Linked DNA regions of Homo sapiens: all the other regions are linked to region 1. Evidence: promoter capture Hi-C in human tissues and cell types (Jung and others, 2019). All regions are on one chromosome and are shown on one strand. The core of a region is centred on a gene start or on the middle of the fragment in contact, and the rest is flanking DNA. Distances in the headings are between cores, read along the strand shown.

The links. Contacts are between HindIII fragments. The study calls those that stand out against the background at their distance.
Region 2: a contact is called between the fragment with the promoter of SMARCC1 here and the fragment with the promoter of PTPN23 in region 1, in 1 of the 25 tissues and cell types used here (mesenchymal stem cells).
Region 3: a fragment that was not itself captured here is called in contact with the fragment with the promoter of PTPN23 in region 1 in 2 of the 25 tissues and cell types used here (lymphoblastoid cells and spleen).
Region 4: a contact is called between a fragment that was not itself captured here and the fragment with the promoter of PTPN23 in region 1, in 2 of the 25 tissues and cell types used here (IMR-90 fibroblasts and lymphoblastoid cells).

What each region holds. Positions count from the first base shown.
Region 1 is chr3:47,379,699-47,382,398 of GRCh38, reverse strand. PTPN23 (protein tyrosine phosphatase non-receptor type 23) reads right to left here and starts at 1,378. Exons shown (of 25, transcript NM_015466.4): 1 at 1,219-1,378. The coding sequence starts at 1,302. PTPN23-DT (PTPN23 divergent transcript) reads left to right here and starts at 907. Exons shown (of 1, transcript NR_185912.1): 1 at 907-2,700. RefSeq lists enhancers at 639-1,314, 1,356-1,575, 1,746-1,805, 1,315-1,992. The HindIII fragment of the contact is 13,956 bases long and covers 1-2,700 here.
Region 2 is chr3:47,780,452-47,783,151 of GRCh38, reverse strand. SMARCC1 (SWI/SNF related BAF chromatin remodeling complex subunit C1) reads left to right here and starts at 1,259. Exons shown (of 28, transcript NM_003074.4): 1 at 1,259-1,549. The coding sequence starts at 1,355. RefSeq lists silencers at 516-575, 686-735, 1,146-1,365, 1,546-1,785 and an enhancer at 1,019-1,313. The HindIII fragment of the contact is 21,057 bases long and covers 1-2,700 here.
Region 3 is chr3:46,884,879-46,887,578 of GRCh38, reverse strand. All of the region lies in intron 3 of PTH1R (parathyroid hormone 1 receptor), which reads right to left. Among named protein-coding and RNA genes, the nearest start is that of PTH1R, 8.5 kb to the right of the region's middle. The HindIII fragment of the contact is 5,915 bases long and covers 1-2,700 here.
Region 4 is chr3:47,112,040-47,114,739 of GRCh38, reverse strand. SETD2 (SET domain containing 2, histone lysine methyltransferase) reads left to right here. Exons shown (of 21, transcript NM_014159.7): 5 at 736-864. Among named protein-coding and RNA genes, the nearest start is that of SETD2, 51 kb to the left of the region's middle. RefSeq lists enhancers at 14-522, 523-1,030. The HindIII fragment of the contact is 3,414 bases long and covers 1-2,700 here.

The DNA.
Region 1 (2,700 bases), core at 129-2,628:
GGTGAGCCGAGATCGTGCCATTGCACTCCAGCCTGGGCAACAAGAGCGAAACTCCGTCTCAAAAAAAAAAAAAAAGGTAGGAAAAAGAAACAGCAGATGAAGAAGAGAGCAACGTCTGGATAACCGTTAACAAAATTCTAGAATTTTGGATCAATTACCCTCATTTCCTGGCCCCAAGAGGCTAGATGATGGACTCAAACACTGTCTGAACTAAGGCAATGGTGTATGGCGATTAGAGGGGAGACAGCTTCTTGGGAAACTACTTCCAAACCCATTTTCTTTTTCCTATTTGTCTTCCCAAGCGTCTCGCTAAGTGGTGCACCATCTAGATTGGGGCTTACTCTGGCATCTGCTGTGCTAAGCCCACAAGGCCCCCCACCTGCGACGGCCTCCTGGTTGTTCCTTTTCATTTCTGCTCTAGCCCTCAGTGCTACCAATACAGCGGATGTCTCGGAGGGCACCTGTGTTCAATCACCACACCTGAACCTCTCCACAGAAGTTCCTTGCCTTAGTCAACGCCAAACCTGCCCGTCTGTTCTTCCAACACAGTAAGATTTCTCTGAGCTCTACAACACTGTTTATGCCCTCCAGTCGGTTACGAAAAGCAGTAACCCTCCTAAAAATGTCGTGGGATTGTATTGTTTGGTCCAAAGAGACTCCCGAATGGGAGACCATACAGAATCGCAGCAATTGTAAAACAAACCCTCACCGCAGGGGTCGGGCATCTCCCTGGGCCACCGGGGCTCACGTCTTAAACACACGCCCCTGAGCCATCCCCAGTGTCTGTCCCAGGCGGGCGTGGACTTGACAGCGCACCGAGGGCCGGGCGCAGCAAAAGAATCCGCACGGTCAGGGCCGCCCACCGCTCCCGCGCGGGGCGGTCCTGGCATGGAGGAGGGGCGGGGCAGAACTGGGTCCGAGCGTCAGAAGGAGGAAGTGTGCTGCCTCAGTGGGAACAGCGGATGACTCGGGGCAGAAGTCGGGAACCGGGTTCAGATGAAGATGCAGGTGCTAGCACGGGGCTATCGGGGAGGAGAAGAATGGCCTGCGGGCGCCGGGGTGTGGGACAGGCTGAGGAAAACCGGCGAAGGCCCCTCCTGGCCTCACCGGACCCTGCGACCGGGCCTGAGGAGGTGATGGGCGCGCAGGGGGGCGTCACGCGCTTGCAGACGACGGAGATACGCGGCGGATAGGGGGGAAGATGGAAGGCAAGCTCACCTTCTTCACAGCTGGCTGGAAGTGAAAGTCACCGGCCTCCTTCAGGTCCAGCCAGATCATGGGCATGCGGGGCACGGCCTCCATGGCGGCTGGCACCCGCCGGCCACCCGGCCACTCCCGTAGCTGCTGCAGCTGCTGGCTCAGCCACGAGCCCAGCCCCGCCCCTTCGTGCCGGAAGTCACTGGTCACGGGAGGGAATGAAAAATGCCAGCGGCCTGCCGGGAGTTGCAGTGAACCCAGCCACCCGCTCGCGTAGTCTTTTGCGCAGGCGCTGTCCCTGTTGCGCATGCTCAGTCTTCTTCGCGCGGAGGGAGTAGGGCGGGGAGGAGCTCGCCAGCCCGAGGCGAAACGGCTTCTGGGATAGTAGTCTTCATCCACTAAACTGAGAGGCGCGGAGCGAGCTTATTCCCCGCTCCCGGGCCAAGCCCAGCTGCGGGTCCCGCCCGCCGCGCTCCTCCCTCCTAGGAAGAGCATGAGACCTCACCTATGAACTTGCCCTCCCACGTATTGTCAAGAGCCGTGGAGGACTGGTGCTGTGGTAGAGATGACGTGGCGGGCGGGCCGCTGGAAAGAGATGACGCGAAAACGGGCCTTAGAGAGGGTGCGGAGGGAGCACCTGGCCTGAAGGAGTCGGGGCTGAGAGCTGGGGGTTTCAGTCCCAGTGCTGCGAAGGCTTTCGAGCTTTGGAACAGAATCACTGACCGGAGACTGGCCTACTCAGCCCAGCCTGGGAGGCCGGGCAGTGCCCAAGGGAGACGGACGATAGGGAGGGAGCGCCTGGATGGAGGGTCTCAAGCGGAGTGAGGAGGCCCCGGGCCCTGTGGGGAAGTGGGTGGGGGAAGGTATACGGCCAGGTGAGCACCCAGGGACGCCCACAGTATCTGGAAGGAGACCACGGAATGGAGAGCACCTGTTGCCTCTGGAGAGGGGACCTATAGAGCAGGAATTGTTAAATCATATGGCTGTATCACCTACTTTTAGAAATAAATAATAGGCTACTCGGGAGGCTGAGGCTGGAGGTTCAATCGCTTGACCTGGGAGGCGGAGATTGCGGTGAGCCTAGATCTTGCCACTGCTCTCCAGCCTGAGCGACAGAGCGAGACTCCGTCTCAAAATAATAATAGTAACAATAGAAATAACAGAGAATGGCCTGGAGATAGTGAGTGCAAAAGTGCGAGCTGGGAGATCAGTGAGCCTTTTGTAGTCTTCCAGGAGACAGGTGATTGTGGCTTGGAGCAGAGGGAAGTAAAAAGTGAGCAAAGAAATATTTTGCCCACTTTGAGAAATATTTGAGGAATATTTTGGAGACAAAAGTATCAGAACTTGGAATGGATGGATGTAAGGGCATGAGGACGTCGAATATGATTTCCAAGCTTCTGGCTTGTGCAGGTGGGTGGCTGTGGGGCTGTTTACTGATAAGGGAAAACAAGGGAAGAGCAAAGGTTCAGGTCCGTGTTAAGCTCGAGGTCAAGGCCTTTGACT
Region 2 (2,700 bases), core at 10-2,509, 400 kb before region 1:
AGCAGTTAGTCACGTTCTCACAAGCAATTAGTTACTTGCTTCTCTGCGATCATATAGCATTATGTTCACAACTCCATTATGGCCAGTCATACTTTTTATGTTTCTGAAACAGGGTTTCGCTCTGTCGCCCAAGCTGAAGTGTAGTGAGTGGCGCGATTATAGCTCACTGCAGCCTCCATCTCCCCAGCTCAAGGGATCCTCCCACCTCAGCCCTCCAAGAGGCTAGGACCACAGGCTTGCAACACAACGCTGGCTGATTTTTGTATTTTTTGTAGAGACGGGGATGGGTGTGGTGGTCTAGAGCTCCTGGGCTCAATTGATCCTCCCGCCTCAGCCTCCCAAAGTGCTCCGCACCCGGCCAATATACCTTGTTAATAATTTAAAAATTTTCGGCTTCTATGTGGGCCATTCATTAACTCATCAAGTATTTACTGTACATCTGTTCCTTGTCTCAGGTGTTCAGGATACACCTGTGAACAAGTTAAGATTAGGTTCTCATGTAATTTATGTGGAAGGTAAATGAGAAACTAGAAACGCCGGGTCGTGGTGAGCGCTATGCAGAAAGTGTATGGGTGTGAACAGTTGTTCAAGATTGTTAAGATCTGACAACTACTTTCTGAAGTCCTTTGAAGCAGTGAATCTGAACGCGTCTCGTAAGTGCAAATCAGAAGGGAAGACCTGCTGAGGTCTCGAAAGAGCCAGTGCAAGGGCCCCTGGGGCAGGAATGAGCCGCTGTGGCTGGACCCCTGAGGGAGTGGAAGGTCTGTGAAGCCGAAAAGCCTAGGCGTGGGAGTCCCAGATGGCTGTTCACAAATGCCGCCGGGCCGCTGGGGGTGGAGGGCCTGAGGGAAAGCGGGGCCCGGCGCAGTCCCAGTCCGGGTGCAGGGCCCTCGGCCAGCACTCGATACCCTAGACAGGCTTTCCCTTGGGCATTTCTCGCACCAGGCCTTTTCCCTCCAGCGGAGGCGGGCTATGACACATAACCCACCTGCGGTTGTTGACCGCATAATGATTCGACGTCGGTAGCGAGGGAAGAGCAAGGCTCAAAAACCGGCGCTCACTAGGGCAGAATGCAGCCTACGGAGGATGGCGGAAGAGGCGGCTGAGGCCGCAGGACGTGCTATTCCAAGGCACGGCCGCACGAGTGCTACGCATGCGCGTGCGCTGGCTCGCGTCAGATACAGTGCCAGTTCCCAGATGGGGCGGGGCCGGGCGTCCGCGCCGGAAGAGGGTTGGCTGGGCGGGGCCGGGAAGCGGCAGTGGCGGCTACGCGCGCGGGGGTGCGCGCGGGAACGACCGGGAAACACCGCGAGGGCCGGGGTGGGCCAGGCTGTGGGGACGACGGGCTGCGACGATGGCCGCAGCGGCGGGCGGCGGCGGGCCGGGGACAGCGGTAGGCGCCACGGGCTCGGGGATTGCGGCGGCAGCCGCAGGCCTAGCTGTTTATCGACGGAAGGATGGGGGCCCGGCCACCAAGTTTTGGGAGAGCCCGGAGACGGTGTCCCAGCTGGATTCGGTGCGGGTCTGGCTGGGCAAGCACTACAAGAAGGTGGGTTCGCGCGCCCGTGGGGGCCGGGAGACCACGCGACCGGGGCCGGAGGCGGCAGCTGGCCTCGCGGGCCTCGGGCCGCCCCTCCCCCCCGCACGCCACGAGGGACAACAAAGGCAGGCGCCGGGCCCGCCACGCCCCCGCCGCCCGCTCTGGGCGCCCGCGATCCCGGGGCCTGACTGGGGTTCGGGGCTCTCTCCTCTGAGCCTACGCACCCATGGTGAAAGCCCCTGCTCAGTCTCGTGTGCCAGAGCAGGTCGAGCTCAGCCACTAAGCGAGTGTGACTCTCTCTCTTTTGTCAGCTGCCTTAGGTGTGTGAACAATGATCCCTAAAGACCGAGCAAGCGTGGTAAAAGCAGCTTCAAGTTTTGTTTAGAGCGTATTCAAAGTCTCGAGGGGGTTTGCTACCTGTTGTTGAATTGCTAAACGACTGGGATGATTGTATTCGTTAATTAATAACAGGCAATATGAATTCTAGGATGGATGAGAACTATTAACGACGGTTCTACCTCATCGTGCTTCTGGTTCTGTGTGGCGTGAGAGTTGATGGTCGCTTGTACGTAAAGTGTTCTAAAGGGAGGCCTTCCCCAAGAACCCAGTTTTTATTAGAGCACTTTTCTTGTGTCACCTTTATTTTCTTCGTAGTGTTTACCACATTTTGAAATTATTCATTTACTGATTTCTCCTACCTTTGGAACGGAAGTTCCGCCGAGTCAGTAGTTTTCAAAGTTTTGACTTAATCCTTTGTTTATAACAAATGTTTTTTTTTTTTCCAACTTCCCTTTTGTGTAAATATTCAGGAGGACTCCCTTAAAGGGTGTAATGAAGCAGGTAGCCGAAAAGGCTCCCCAGCCTCTGAAGTTTTCCTATCACCCTCTTTAGTTCTGTACTTTCTCCTATTGAGAATCATAGCACTGAAGCAAGGGCTTTGTTCACTGCAGTGTATCCGGGAACGTGGCTGATACTTATTGCCTTACCCTTAGTGGCTGCTTAGTAAATATTTGTTGAATGAATGAAAACATAAACTAGTTTAGGAACCTATTTTTTTGGCCTCAGCAGCTCAGTGAAGCCTGTCAGTGTTTGGCAGTTATTAGGCATGGGCAGGGATCTTGGGTTCCTTTGGCATTACACGTGGTACATTCAGAAATGAC
Region 3 (2,700 bases), core at 99-2,598, 490 kb after region 1:
TCTACCCAAACTGCTAAAAATGGTTTTCCCTAGAAGGGAACTGGGGCTTGGGAGTGATCAAGGAGGGCTTCTGTTTAATTTTTATTGATTGACTCTCTCTCTTTTTTTTTTTTTTTTTTTTTCAGAGACAGGGGCTCACTCTGTCACCCAGGCTGGAGTGAAGTGGCATGATCGTAGCTCATTGCAGCCTTGAACTTCTGGGCTCAAGCAATTCTCCCTCCTCAGCCTCTCAAGTATCTGGGATTACAGACTTGTTTGACTCTTTTATAAGAACATATTCATATATCAGTTGTGAAGTTAAAAATTAACAAAATAACAGAAGGATTTAATTTTTTTTTTCTTTTTTACAGAGCCTCTGTCGCCCAGGGTGGAGTGCAGCAGCGTGATCTCGGTTCACTGCAACCTCTGCCTCCTGGGTTCAAGCGATTCTCCTGCCTCAGCCTTCCAATAAGCTGGGATTACAGGCACGTACCACCACGCGTGGCTAATTTTTGTATTCTTAGTAGAGATGGGGGTTTCACCATGTTGGCCAGGCTGGTCTCGAACTCCTGGCCTCAGGTGATCTGCCCGGCCTCCCAAAGTGTTAGGATTACAGGTGTGAGCCACTGCACTCGGCCATGATTTAATTTTTAAAAAAGAAAAAAGAAAGAGAAAACCCAGAGTGAGACATGAGGATCTCCTGCCAGCAGCAAATCTCGTGCTGCTTTTGAGGAAGGAATTCAGTGCAAAGGTCTAAAGATCTGGGTTCAAATCCTGCTGTGCCACAGACTCACTGTGTGACTCTCAGGGCCCTTTAGCGTAGAAATCACTGGGTGAATGGATGAAATAAGAAAACAATCTGTGACAGTTTCTAGCTCAGAATCTGGGGACAGCCACTGTTCTGTACATGTTGGCTTCTTCCTGTCTTTAAAAGCAAGCAACCGGCCGGGCGTGGTGGCTCACGCCTGTAATCCCAGCACTTTGGGAGGCCGAGGCGGGCGGATCACGAGGTCAGGAGATCGAGACCATCCTGGCTAACACGGTGAAACTCCATCTCTACTAAAAATACAAAAAATTAGCTGGGCATGGTGGCGGGCGCCTGTAATCCCAGCTACTGAGGAGGCTGAGGCAGGAGAACGGCGTGAACCCGGGAGGCAGAGCTTGCAGTGAGCCGAGATCGCACTACTGCACTCCAGCCTGGGCGACAGAGTGAGACTCTGTCTCAAGAAAAAAAGCAAGCAAGCAACATGGCCAAGCTGCCCCTGGAGCAGGCTGGAAAAGGTCCCACACACTCCCAGCCTGTGAGTCCACACCACAGTCTCTTGTGAGTCCTACCCAGTGGTCACATCTTCACACTCAAGGCCTGCCCCATGCTGAGCTCCAGCTTCTCTTGTTGCAGTTTCTCCTCCACATGTGTACATGCTGGGGGGGTCCTTAGGAGGACGCATCCTCAAGGACAAGAGTGCCCCTTTGCCTCCTACTCACAATCTGTGGGTCTATCACTTCCTCCAAACTCCACCCCGCCCCAGACTCCAGGCTCCCAGGTAACTGTTTCCTGTACAGCAGAAGATGGACCAGCTGAGTCTGGCCACAACCAGTGTCCTCCAGATGGAATGCTCTTTGGCCCCCCAAATGTGAGGTCACTGGAGATGTGAGCCTGGTCTTGGGACCAGCTGGGCAGGTAGCATACAGGTTTGGTGACCGGCCATGAGATAAGGTTGGTGGGCTTGAGGGGCATAGGTGCAGATCTAAAGGGGGGCAGTAGCCCTCTGGGCTCAGGAGAGGGAGCTGGCAGGCTGCCAGCTTCTTGCTGGCCCCAGATGAGTCCAGGGGGCCCATAGGATATTGGATGGGTGAGTAGGCTGCCCCCGCCCTTCAGTCCCAATCTTCTGGCCCCGAAGCCAGGGAGTGTCCAGTGAACTCACATGCCCCAACAAGGTCCTGGGCAGACTGAACACTGGCATCTGTCCTTCTACTCTCAGACATGGGCCAGGGCAAAGCCAGGAAGATTCTCTGCATATATCTCAGCTTCCCTGGAGAGCAGTGGGGCTCTGGGTACCCATACTCCACACACACATAGAGGCACAGGGCTTGGCATGAGATAAATAATGGTCATTGTGGTTGTGTGATTCGGGCCAGTTAAAAATGGGGACAATAACCTTCCTCTGAGGGTGGTTGGGAGGATTAGACTAGCTAATGTACGTGAATTGCTTAGAACAATGGCAAGTAGAAAGCCCTACAGAAGCATTTATGAAATACACATAAGAAAACAACAGGCCCGGGTGCACAGGCGCTCACAAAGGCACACACAAACACACACAACTGCGCCTCCAAGTCATGCACCACAACTTCAGACACGTGAACTCACACAGGGACTCAGACACTCACAATCACACAGACCCAGATGAACACCATGCCCAGAGTCCCACAGAACCCTGCTCTGACACATAGACTTACTCTCAGGACACCCACACCCATCACCCTGTCTACCCCTCAGGCCGTCACACACCAAACTCCGGGGGTGGGGTTGGTGGTAGTTCTATCCCCTGGCATTCGTCAGTACTTGGAGTGTCTCTGCAGAGGGTGTTGAGCTCCTCTGAACCTCAGTTTCCCCATCCACAAGGCCTTGTATGGGGCTGTCTTTGGTGGGGAGCCTTTGCTGGGGCCAGAATTGTGAGGGTGTAGGCACAGGTAAGTGGGAAGTGCTGAGGACCTCAGAGG
Region 4 (2,700 bases), core at 37-2,536, 270 kb after region 1:
GCCCGGCTAATTTTTGTATTTTTCAGAGAGACAGGATTTCACTATGTTGGCGAGGGTGGTCTTGAATTCCTGACCTCAAGTGATCCACCTGCCTTGGCCTCCCAAAGTGCTGGGATTACAGGCATGAATCACCGTACTCAGCCCCCTCTGGTGTAGTTTTAATCATCGTTAAAACCTTTATATCTATCACATATTAAGAAGTCAATCAGTGTTCGATTTTATCATTTTTACTCTAGGATCCATGGGAGAAGAGCCATGCCATGTTATTCTGTTTACTCTGAACAAGGATATATTTAATAATGACTTTAGATTTTCTCAATTGTAGATCAAGTAGTTAGCTGCATTCAAAAAATGAAATTAAAAGTGATTAGAGTAGAAGGAAGGGAAGGTGCACTTACAGAATATAAGTTCTGCAGAGTTGTCAATGTACTGAAAGCTTACATGCAGCCTGAAAATGTATTCTAGACACCTAGGGAGTGGTAGATATTTCTGTGATGACCAGATATCAAGGCTGTATTGTGGGTATGATCTGTTTAAGTAACAATGTAGATACTCAGTTCTAAGGAATCCCTTTGTGATGGAAGGAAAGGAAGACTTAGTTGGGGGTTAGTCATACATATGCTAATTATACCATAAAAGTATGTATATATGTAGTTATACTAACACATTTTTTCAAAGTTACTTTGGTTCTTTTGCTGCTTTAAAGAATTAAATTTCCTCCTTTTCTCATTTCAGTTCTTCTCGGTGTCCAAATGGGGATTATTGTTCCAATAGACGGTTTCAGAGAAAACAGCATGCAGATGTGGAAGTCATACTCACAGAAAAGAAAGGCTGGGGCTTGAGAGCTGCCAAAGACCTTCCTTCGTAAGTTCTTTTTTAATTACCTTTCACTTCCTTTTTTGAGACAAGGTCTCACTCTTTCACCCAGACTGGAGTGCAGTGGCACGATCTTGGCTCACTGGAACCTCTACCTCCCGGATTCAAGCAATTCTCCTGCCTTAGCCTCTCAAGTAGCTGGAACTACAGGCTCATGCCACCATGCCCAGCTAATTTTTTTTGTATTTTTTTGGTAGAGACGTTGTTTCACCATGTTGGCCAGGCTGGTTTCGAACTCTGACCGCAAGTTTTCCGCCCACCTTGGCATCCCAAAGTGCTGGGATTACAGGTGTGAGCCGTCGCGCCTGGGCTTCACTTCATTTTTGTGTTGTTGAACTTAGATGTTTTTGTAGGGAAACAATTTCTTTATTACACTGAGGTTTAATGATGATTATTATGTAGAATGACCACTTGGTAGCTAGTTTGTTGTTAAAAAATCTTTTTTTCTTTTTTGGTAATTATGTTTTCTTTAATTCCAAGCAACTACCAAGTGTTTACTGTGGACCCCCAGAATCTCTATGAAGCTATATAAAAAGAAGTTGGGACAGAATCCATTAGTATACATAAAATTGAGTTGGGATAAGAGTAGAAGAGAAGGCCAGGTGCAGTGGCTCATGCTTGTAATCTCAGCGCTATGGGAAGCTAAGTGGGAGGACTGCTTGAGCCTGGGAGTTCAAGGTTACAGTGAGCTGTGATCACGCCACTGCATTCTAGCCTGGATGGCAGTGATCTCTTGTCTCTTAAAGAAAAAAAAAAAGAGTAGAAGAGAATACCTGAGCATATCAAGGTTAAGAATTAAAACATACTTGATAGATAATCATTAAACATTTCTTGAATGAATAAATGTTGCTTTCCATGTAACTGATGTAAGTTTTTAATGTAATACAGCAAAAGGTTCACTTTATTTTCTACCATATTCAGTATTTCCTGGAAATGTTTAATTTTCTTATATATAGCATATTTAAAGTATTCTTGGCCGGGCATGGTGACTCATGCTTGTAATCCCAGCACTTTGGGAAGCCAAGGTGAGTGGATCACCTGAAGTCGGGAGTTCGAGACCAGCCTGGCCAACATGGCGAAACCCCGTCTCTACTAAAAATACAAAAATTAGATGGGTGTGGTGGCGCACGCCTATAATCCCAGCTACCTGGGAGGCTGAGGTAGGAGAATCGCTTGAACTTGGGAGGTGGAGGTTGCAGTGAGCCGAGATCATGCCACTGCCCTCTAGCCTGGGAGACAGAGCAAGACTCCATCTCGAAAACAAACAAAAAACCCAAAATTACGCTGGACGTGGTGGTTCACGCCTGTAATCCCAGCACTTTGGGAGGCCGAGGTGGGCAGATCACCTGAGGTCAGGAGTTCAAGACCAGCCTGGCCAATGTGGTGAAACCCTGTCACTACTAAAAATACAAAAATTAGCTGGATGTGGTGGCAGGCACCAATAATCCCAGTTACTTGAGGGGCTGAGGCAGGAGAATCTCTTGAACCGGGGAAGCGAAGGTTGCAGTGAGCCGAGATTGCGCCATTGTACTCCATCCTGGGTGACAAGAGTGAAACTCTGTCTCAAAAAACAAAACAAAAATTAGCCAGGCATGATGGCGCACAGCTGTAATCCCAGCTACTCGGGAGGCTGAGGCAGAAGAATTTGCTTGAACCCACGAGGAGGAGGTTGCAGTGAGCCGAGATCATGGCACTGCATTCCAGCCTGGGGGACAGAGCGAGACTGTCTCCAAAAAAAAAAAAAAAAAGTATTCTTAATGAAGGTCAAGTGCCTCTTTGAAGTTAAATATAAACAGATTACATGTGTTTATGGTTGAAACATTT